Regions from separate parts of the Homo sapiens genome. Here all the other regions are linked to region 2. Evidence: promoter capture Hi-C in human tissues and cell types (Jung and others, 2019). All regions are on one chromosome and are shown on one strand. Each heading gives the region's core, a stretch centred on a gene start or on the middle of the fragment in contact. The rest is flanking DNA. Distances are from core to core; before and after follow the strand shown. Region 1 overlaps PPP3CA (protein phosphatase 3 catalytic subunit alpha). Region 2 holds the start of DNAJB14 (DnaJ heat shock protein family (Hsp40) member B14). Region 3 overlaps TSPAN5 (tetraspanin 5).

Region 1 (3,068 bases), core at 283-2,782, 1.1 Mb after region 2:
GTTTATGGCAGTCTCCTGCCTCAGCCTCCTGAGTAGCTGGGACTACAGGCACCTGCCACCACGCCCAGCTAATTTTTTTGTATTTTCAGTAGAGATGGGGTTTCACCATGTTAGCCAGGATGGTCTCGATCTCCTGACCTCATGATCCACCCGCCTTGGCCTCCCAAAGTGTTGGGATTACAGGCGTGAGCCACCGCACCCAGCCTTATGTCCACATTTCTAACCCTCGCCTCTCTCTGAACCTCCAGGGCAGAATTTCTAAGTGCCTCTACATAAATGCTCTGCCAAATTCAGTGCATCCTACTCTTCCCGATAAATACCTGTTAGGTATTTAAATTGAAAAGTACTTCCTCTTCTTTAGACAATGGCATCCTATCAATGGCATAGACTGGAACCCCTGTAGAATATTCTGGAATACTTCCTCTCTCTTGTAGCCTCTCATATAGGTAAGGGTTCTCACAGCCAACACCGGAAATCTATTCTGGCTAATTTTAACAGGAAAGAGATATATTAAAGGTATTAGAGAGCTCACAGATCCAGAGAACTGGGCTTCGATGCTCTGTAGCTGGGAAGGGTAACAGTACTTGTTCATACTGTGGGGTGGGCTCCATGAAAGGCTTGCCACTGATGTTCACAGCCAATGCCAGAGCTCATACTAATGCTGTGTAGTTAGCTCCCAAAATGCTGAGGTGGAAGCTCTTCCACTGCTGGCCCATGAGATTCCACACCTGACAGGACAATTGTTGTCCTGCCTTGCTGCTTCCTCATGATGCTCAATTTGAAACAAAGCCTTGCTTACATGCATTTATCTGACTGGCAAACCCTAGGCAACAGACTTGTATTTTATCTGCAAGGACTGCTGAAAGACAGTTTTCTGGTTCCCTTATAAGGTTGCACATTTCCAAAACGTAAGAAACATGTTGGGCAAGTATACCTGACAAATTTGTACCACATTCCACATTCATTAATCACGTCCTGTTTTCCCAAATTCCTTGTATTTGTCCTTTCCTTTGCACTTCTCTCCCCATAGCCTGGTCCAGCCTTTTGCTGGGATTACTTCAAAAGCTTCCTAAATGGTTTTTTTTTTTAATTTACATTTTATTTTATATTTATTCACTTTTTTCATTATCCATACGTCACCTTGCTAGCCAATCTTCACGTTGCAATTAACATGTATAGTGAAACATGGGTTAGAGCATGCCTCTAATCTCACGAAAATAATTCTACAACTCCTGATTGCCTACACACACAAAAATTAAATGTTTTAACATGCTATTCAAAACACTCAAGGATATGGACTTCAGTATATTTTCAGTCTCCTTTTAAACTAGATTCCTCACTCACCTTCATGTCTTTTGCTAGTCAGTCCTTTAATACATTTAGAATTCATTACTAGACTACTAGTATTGCTAAGAATTTATACTAGACTACATAGCACAGTTTTGAGTAAGACTCTCATTAGTGTTGCTCCCCAACTGAGGGAGTTTGGACACTCTGCTTAGCCTCTCTCAGATTCAATTTCCTCACAGCAAAGTGAAGTCACCACAACCTTGCAAGCTTCCTGTGTCGATGATTGTCAAATGTGCATAACATGGGGCATGAACCTGGCACTTAGCAAGTGCCCCATAAAAGGATGCCATTGATAGTGCTCTTAGGATTGTGTGGCTGTGCTCCTGATAATTTTTCCACTTCCAGGAATGCCTTCACCACATCTCTCCCTGCCCTGGAATCCAGCCTATCCTTCACAGCACTCCTCCAATTTTAACCTCTTTATGAACACTCCAGTCAGGAAACACAAGGTTCCTTCCTGTCTAATGCCACAGCAGGGTATCTATTCATGTAGTTATTTAGCACACACTTTTTTTTTCTTTTTTTTTTTTTGAGATGGAGTCTTGCTCTGTCACCCAGGCTGGAGTGCAGTGGCGCGATCTCGGCTTACTGCAACCTCCGCCTCCTGGGTTTGAGAGATTCTCCTGCCTCAGCCTCCTGAGTAGCTGGGATTACAGGCACGTGTCACCATGCCCGGCTAATTTTCGTATTTTTAGTAGAGACAGGGTTTCTCCATGTTGCTCAGGCTGGTCTCGAACTTCTGACCTTGTGATCTGCCTACCTCGGCCTCCCAAAGTGCTGGGATTACAGGCGTGAGCCACCACGCCCGGCCACTTTATTTTCTTTTGTTAGTTTATTGTCTATCTGGCTGGCATTCCAATTTGGTATCTAGATTGCCTAATTCAGTGCATGGTATACAGTTAATGCTCAATCATTATTTACTAAGCTTAACTTACTTTTTTCTGGATAGGATCTCTCTATATTCTGCATATGTGTTATGGATGCTTTTATTATAGAAAAACAATAATATAGAGCTTGCTTTTATTTTCTATTAACATGTGCAATTTTAAGTCAAGTCACTCATCACTGGGTTCAAATAGTCCATTTATCACGGGATAGTCATGGAAATTCTAGAGCTGTTTTTACTTTCCCTCAGAGACTTCAGACAGAATAAGAAATAAAAGCATTATTGGTAAATCTGAGGCACAATAAATAAACAAGTGTTTACTCAGAATTCCAATTAAGCTTATGACCTTCATATACGCCTTTGTCCCCACAGAACATTTTTCTAGCCATACAGGCCTCCTTGTGGTCCTCAAAACTGCCAGTTTTGTCTTTACTTAAGTATCTTTGCACTTGCTATTGTCTTTGCCTTGAACTCCCTTACCTCATTTCTTCATGAAGGTCACCTATGCTTGCCCAAATACCATTACTCAGAAAGTTTTTTGTTGACCACACACTAAAAGAAGTTCTTTATCTCCCACTTGCTCCATCTCTACATTGCCTTATTTCTTTTCTCCATGGTACATAATCAATGCTTTAAGTTTCACTATATTTACTTATGGCATGAATGAATAAGCCCTGAAAATGTAGTTGGAAACGTACAGCAATAGAGCAAAGGTAGCCTCATTCAATAACGGAAGGGAGCAATGATGCCCTATTTTCCGCTTGAACATGGCTGGTCGTGAATGTGCTGGCTACCACAGAGTTCTCACTGCCTTTGATGTGGTGTCTCTGAG
Region 2 (3,369 bases), core at 361-2,860:
AGTTAAATTCACAGAAACACAAAGTAGAATGGTAGTTGCCAGGGTCTTAGGAGACGGGGCGGTAGGGAGCTGTCTGATTAGTACACAGTTGTGTTGTAAGATGAAAAAGTTCTGAAGAGTCCTTGCACAACAATGTCAATATACTTCACTAATGGACTGCACACTTAAAAATAGTTAAGACCGTAAATTTGGCAGGTTTTTAAACCACAACTTAAAAAATTATTAACTCTTTTCTTTCATTTTATTTTCCTGTCCTCATGGGTATAGTGTTAGAAGGCAATGTAATGGAAAGGATAGAGAGAAAAGCAAAGAGCACAGGGCTTCAACGACGTAGAGAAAAAAATTTAAGAGACAACAAAACAAGTGGCCCCATATTTTCATTAATAATTTTCTACAATTAATTGAATCTATCGATAACTTTCTTCTTAACCTGGAAATACTAATGGCAAGGCAACAGTGTAGCGGTTAAAGGCCTTTTCGAGTCTGAAAGTTCAGCTACTATTCTGACTTTGCTACTAATTGTTGTGTGACCTTGGGTAAGATACTTTCATTCATTCGCTAATTCATTCATTAATTATCAGAAAGTCTGTTTCCACGTGGGTAAACCTGGTCAAATGAATCCTGCACCTCTACACAGAATTGTTCTGAGGAATAAATGAAATAATCCATGCAAAATGTTGGGCACAACTATTGGCACTTTGTGCTCAATAAATGTTGGCTATTATTACTCCGAAGCCTATCGAGTAGGAAAATAAATAAGCTGACTTCAACTAAAGGAAACCCAGTACCATATTCCTCAGAGATTTGGTTCGTCGATAATCATGGTGTTATCAAATCAGATACTCTTCAGCAATCATTACTGACTCTTGACCATTCTTGCCGAAAGTGTGCTCTTCTCTTTTAAAGGAACTCTCTCCCAGGGAAAAGCAATGTCATCTCAGGTATTCGATGTTTGCTTTGGGAACAGTTTTCTACAGATCTCAGAAACATGGAATCTGAGATTAGCCACTAGAGTACACCATTCCTCTCACTTCGATAGGGGCCTAGGCCTTATGTAGGACTGAGAATGGGGAGGGAGGGGGCCACATAAACAACACAGATACAAATAAAGCCTCACTGTGGTAAGACGGGACCAGACAAGTCTCCTCCAGGGAGAATGAAACCCGGACATTTAGGACAGCGGAACGCGGAGCCGGCGGGCAGGCGGGTGCAGAGGAACCTCGCGCAGCATTCCCCGAGCCCCAGCCCGGAGCCGGGGCTGGGGCCAGGGCGGGGGTGTGTCGGGATGCTCCCCACCGGGCCTGGGGCTGGGGCTGGCTCAGACAGGCCGGGGGCCCCGCAGGCCTCCAGGAGGGGCCGAGGTGGGGGCAGGGGCGGGCTACGCGGTGGTCTGGGGATTGGGCAGGAAGAGAAGGGACGCTGAGGTCTCACCGCGGGCCGAGGGCAGTGGGTAGAGCTTCTCGGCCTTCTGCAGGAAGCGCTGGGCCTTCTCGCGGTTGCCGGCGTTCAGGGCCTCCCGGGCGATCTCGACACATTTCTCAGCCTCATCCCTGTTCCCCTCCATAGCTTGCTCCTTCTTCCGTTTCCTCCGGCAGCGCAGCTAAGAAGGGCGGAAGCCGCCGCCGCGGAGGAGGCGAGGCGGGACCGGCTGGGGGCGTGCGGCGGCAGCGGGGAGGAGCGCAGGGGACCGCGGCAGCGGCTGCGACGGCCCGGGCGGACGGGCGGGCCTCGCAGCTCCGCCTCCTCACGGCGGCCTCCCCGCCCCCCGCGGGCCCCTAGGGCGCGATCCGCATCCGTCCCGGCCCAGGACCAACCTCCTGGGCCGGGGCGTCCGAGCTGACTCGGTGGTCCGCGCACGGCGCCAGCAGGCTCGAAGCGGACCTGCCCGGGAGGCGGACGATAGCAGCCGGGCTGCCCATCGCGGGGAGGGGTTCCGCCCGGGACCCGATTGCCGGCATTGGTAGCGCCGTGCCCTGTGACCTCCAGGCGAGGCCCTCGCAGCTCAGGCCAGGAGGACAGGGTCCGGGAAGGGGACACTCGTTTTCAGTAAAATTGCCAGGACTTGGAGGTTCCGCCTCTGGGCCCCTCAAGCGAGGGAGGATGCGGTCAGGTGAGGACCAAGGTGTCAGTCCAGTCTCAGCACTTCCGGGACACGTTAGAGCGTCGTTTGAACCTAATCTTAGGGCTTGTATGGCAGCCTTATTTCAGCTACATTTTTTCTGACCCGGATGTCTGGCTATCCAAAGTACAAAGCAGTTTAATTTGTAGCTTGCAACGAGTGGTGCAGATCGACCTTAATCCTGTGTAGCCAAAACAAGGCAGGAATCAGCCCCTCAGGGGCTGCCCTAACGAAAGCAAACTTTTGATTTCACCTTTTCCGTCCCATTTGGATAACATTACCACTTGGAAGTACCGTGTCTTGTTAGTCTTCGCGGTGGGGGTGGGGGGAATGTTTGCTATGTGCAAATTTTTTAAAAAAAAACATGACAAACTGTCAAAATGACCTGCTCAACCCAACCACAAGGTAACAATTTTTACATAATGCTGTGAGCCAAGCTGTTAATTCTGCTAACTACCATAACTCGGTACTTTCAAATAAGAAACCCTGCTTCTCTTCGATAAAATGGAGATAGTATATCCCCAATGATGTTACTGAGTACTTAACAACTTCAGACTTCAAAGCAGGGCCTGGCACGTAGCACTATTATCTTTAAAGTTTAAATTCGGAGTTCATTCTGTGGATATACAGGACATTCCTACCTATTCTCTCCCTCCCCAAGTCCACCATGCTAACAGCATACTAGTGCAGTGCTGTCACACAGCAAGCGAAGCCAATGTACAAACTGAAATGGTCACACTTAGCCTAAGAAACTGACAATCCCACTCCAGCTCCTGCCAACTTTTTAAATTAAAACTTTAGTAGCTCATATAACATTAAAAAAATATACTTGGGCTATCTCACTTTGTTGATCTACAGATTTGACAGTTCAGTCACAAAGAAATGTGCTTAGTTATTGCTGCTAGATGAGATACTCAAAACAAGTTCCTATTACAACCAAGCAAATTTAATACACAACTAGTTTGGGATATGACCTTTATTGAACTTATCCACCAGAGTGGAAATAATGTCTGTACAAAACCAAATGTTTGTTACTATAACTTCTGCATCACAATTAAAATCCAAACAGTTTTTTAAAAACAGTCAACTCAATCAAAACCCACTACTTCAGAATCAATAGCTTCTTTGAAGCCACAGTAACACTTAAATATGGTTAAGACTCGAATGCAGAAATTTGGTTGGTTGGAAAGCTAATTAAACTTCCAACTTGCTCAAATAGAATTACAAAAAGGCAAAATTGTGTTTTTCAC
Region 3 (3,028 bases), core at 18-2,517, 1.4 Mb before region 2:
ACTGCTGAGGCTTGGGTCTTGACATTAAAATTGACTGTGTTTCTAAATTTTTTTTTTTTTTTCTTTTTTGAGATGGAGTCTTGCTGTCACCCAGGCTGGAGTGCAGTGGCATGATCTCGGCTCACTGCAGGCTTCGCCCCCTGGGGTTCACGTGTGTTTCTAATTTTTAAGGCCCTACTTTAATTTCTACTGTCACTAAATAAAAAAGAACAAAAGCTTTTTCTTTTAAAAACCCTAGACATCATGTTCCTGCTTCTGCTGGAAAAAGAGACAGGATATCACCATCTCAAACCAGCACCTTTCAGCAACTGAAGCCTTTTTGTCCTCACCCTGAGTGTTAAGACAATGGCTCCCTCACACGTCACAGGCCCTGGAAGTGCTACAACAGCTGAATGGGTTTTCATGGGACATAAATCACTTTCCCACTACCTGCCACCTACAAACCTACTTCTCATGAACCTTGGATCCTGCACAATATGGCTCGTCATATCCTTTGTGACTGCTATGAACAAGGGGACTATTTGCATGAGTAGATAGAGGGCATTTTTCCTTTTGACGGTTGGTGTTTTTCCCCCTTGTTCCTTGAATTTTTTTTCATTAAAATCACAGAAACATTCAATGTCCACATGTCAGTTAAATTTTCAACTTATACTTGCATGTTTCATATAACTGTTGAGCACTTTAATAAGATTCTTGAAAGCATATTTATCTGTCCATTTCCTAATATATCTCCATATTCTTATAATTTTGCATGAGAGCTTTTGAGCAAATTTTCATCCCATTTTGGGGGCCTTAAAGAACTGAGGAGAAAATATACACAGTAGACCACGCATTTACTGATTGACAATGTTTTCCCATATACAAATTTCCTAAATTCACTTATTCCTCTTGAAACTGAATTGCTGAAAAGAATAATGATTAAAGATATTCTTGTGGATGTGACACCACCTACATACATCTCATCCCATTGCTCTGTATTAAATTTGGACTGCTTAAAGTAGGAGTTATATATACTTGTTATGGGGACCAAAAAGCTGCCTGGAATTTTGTAGCCTTTATCACAAGCAGCTGAGAGGCTGTCTGAGAGTCACATAAGTAGATCACAGCTGCCAATGGTCAGTCCAGGTGCCTGTGTTCCCTCCTTTTTCAGTGGCCTAGAGTACATGCTTCACCTGCATGCCCCATTCAGACAAGAACAGATGCTGCTGCAACAAAGTGGTCCAACCACAACAAACAACACTTCTCTGTGAGCCATGTTATGCCAAAGCCTCTGCAGGCACAGATCATGAAGCAATTTAATACAAGCTTAGATAAAAAGCCAAGTGAACAATCTAGAAGCCAAAAGAAAACACAAGGGAAAGTTCCTTAGTTTTAGCGAGGAGAAGAAACAGGCAGAGTACATCTCCAGGGGAAATGAGAGGAAAGGGGAGGGGAGGCAACAGCTGTCCGCCAGGTCTATTTCAGGGAACCGGTGAAAACGTTATTTCCCTTACTCTGGCAACTGAGATTATGAGTCCTTATAATCCGTGCTTATAATTCTCAACTCTTTCTAGGGTCAGGAGGAGCAAGTGACATTGAACAGAGCCCAAGCAGAACAAGAATTATGTGTGCTGATTGTGCTAAACACAAAGTGGAGCCCCAGCATTTTTCTGAAAGTGGCTGGAAAGCAATCTCTAGCTTGGCTTGTAAAAACCTTATGGCGGGTGGGGGTGGGGAAATGAGGGATGCATCTCTCCCCTAAACAAGTCTCACAGGAAAAAATATCCATTAATGAAAAGACCTTTGCATTAGAAAAAGATGGCAGTGGGGATGTATGCTGACAACCTCGAGAATAATACCAAAGGCTAGAGCCAAAACATGTGATTCCAGTGTCAGGCCAGAGCCCAGCTGGAGCAGCCATGGGAAAAAAAGATACCATACAGAGGAGAAGCAGGGGGCCAGGGCTGAGTGAAGTGGGTGACAAATTGGTGCTAAGGCACCACAAGCGGCAGGCTTGTTTTCTCCCGCCTGATGTTGTAAGAGGCTTTTACACTGGAAGCCTGGATGCTGTGGAGGAGGGCGGGTGGCATATATGCAGCTGAGCTTTACTCTGAGACAGCAGGATGCTGTCACCACCAGCATAGCAGGGAAAACATGACGCAAGACCCATCTGGGACAGGTGGGTGCACAGCCCTTGGCAGGGGCACCGCACGCAGGACAGGAGATTCAAACCCCAACACAACACATTCCCTGGGGCCAACGAACAAGCCTCGGCCTCAAGAGGAGGAATACAAATACTGGAGCTGATTGTAGCAGAAACAGCTGTGCTGCAGCCTACACGGCCAAGTGCAGGAGACGCTGGCATGATGTCTTCAAGAGGGTGCAGGCTCCCGAGTAGTGCAGCTACAAAGCTGCCCCCCAGGGTTTAACTGGCCAATTCTTGCAAAGGGGCACTCAATAAATAATTTGAAATTTGAATAAGTCTCTCCATCCTGCCTACTCCCAGCACAAAATCCATCAACAGACTGGATCTTCTCGTAACCTGTTGGGCCTATGAGGACGCAGAAGTGCAAAATACATTCCCTGCCCTCAAAGGGTTTATTGTCATCTAGGCCCGATGGTTCCTTCCAAATTGTGGGTAGCCTCCTACAGTGGATAGTCAAAATCAATTAAATGGGTCAAAATAAACACTGTTTTTAACACACACAAAAAAAGAAGAAAATGTTCCTGTGGAACTCTTAATTAAAATGTATGTGCCCATCACAACATTAAAATATATTCCTTACTATGGGACAAATTAAAAATAATTTCAAAAATAACTGATTACTGAAGAAACCAGGCACATCTAACCATTTACAAAGAACTTTTACACAATTGGTTTTACAGAATCCAGAAATCCCAGGATCCAGCTATCATTATTATGCCTTTTTTCAGTGGTTCGGAGATGTGGCTGCCTTGTTCAAAGCAACACAGCACGGTTGGGATGTAATCGCAGATGGGTCTGCCTCCAGTATGTCCTCAAGTACCACAGGAGGTCAGAGAAGATGAT

Evidence for each region. The method cuts DNA at HindIII sites, captures the fragments that hold promoters and counts their contacts. A contact is called where the count stands out against the background at its distance.
Region 1: a fragment that was not itself captured here is called in contact with the fragment with the promoter of DNAJB14 in region 2 in 1 of the 25 tissues and cell types used here (dorsolateral prefrontal cortex).
Region 3: a fragment that was not itself captured here is called in contact with the fragment with the promoter of DNAJB14 in region 2 in 1 of the 25 tissues and cell types used here (aorta).

Annotation. Positions count from the first base shown.
Region 1 is chr4:101,036,507-101,039,574 of GRCh38, forward strand. The region is part of intron 11 of PPP3CA (protein phosphatase 3 catalytic subunit alpha); the gene reads right to left. Among named protein-coding and RNA genes, the nearest start is that of LINC01218, 160 kb to the left of the region's middle. The HindIII fragment of the contact is 3,728 bases long and covers 1-3,068 here.
Region 2 is chr4:99,945,008-99,948,376 of GRCh38, forward strand. DNAJB14 (DnaJ heat shock protein family (Hsp40) member B14) reads right to left here and starts at 1,611. Exons shown (of 8, transcript NM_001031723.4): 1 at 1,432-1,611. The coding sequence starts at 1,564. H2AZ1 (H2A.Z variant histone 1) reads right to left here. Exons shown (of 5, transcript NM_002106.4): 5 at 3,081-3,369. RefSeq lists an enhancer at 995-1,044 and a silencer at 1,215-1,874. The HindIII fragment of the contact is 13,922 bases long and covers 1-3,369 here.
Region 3 is chr4:98,564,646-98,567,673 of GRCh38, forward strand. The region is part of intron 1 of TSPAN5 (tetraspanin 5); the gene reads right to left. Among named protein-coding and RNA genes, the nearest start is that of TSPAN5, 92 kb to the right of the region's middle. The HindIII fragment of the contact is 6,619 bases long and covers 1-3,028 here.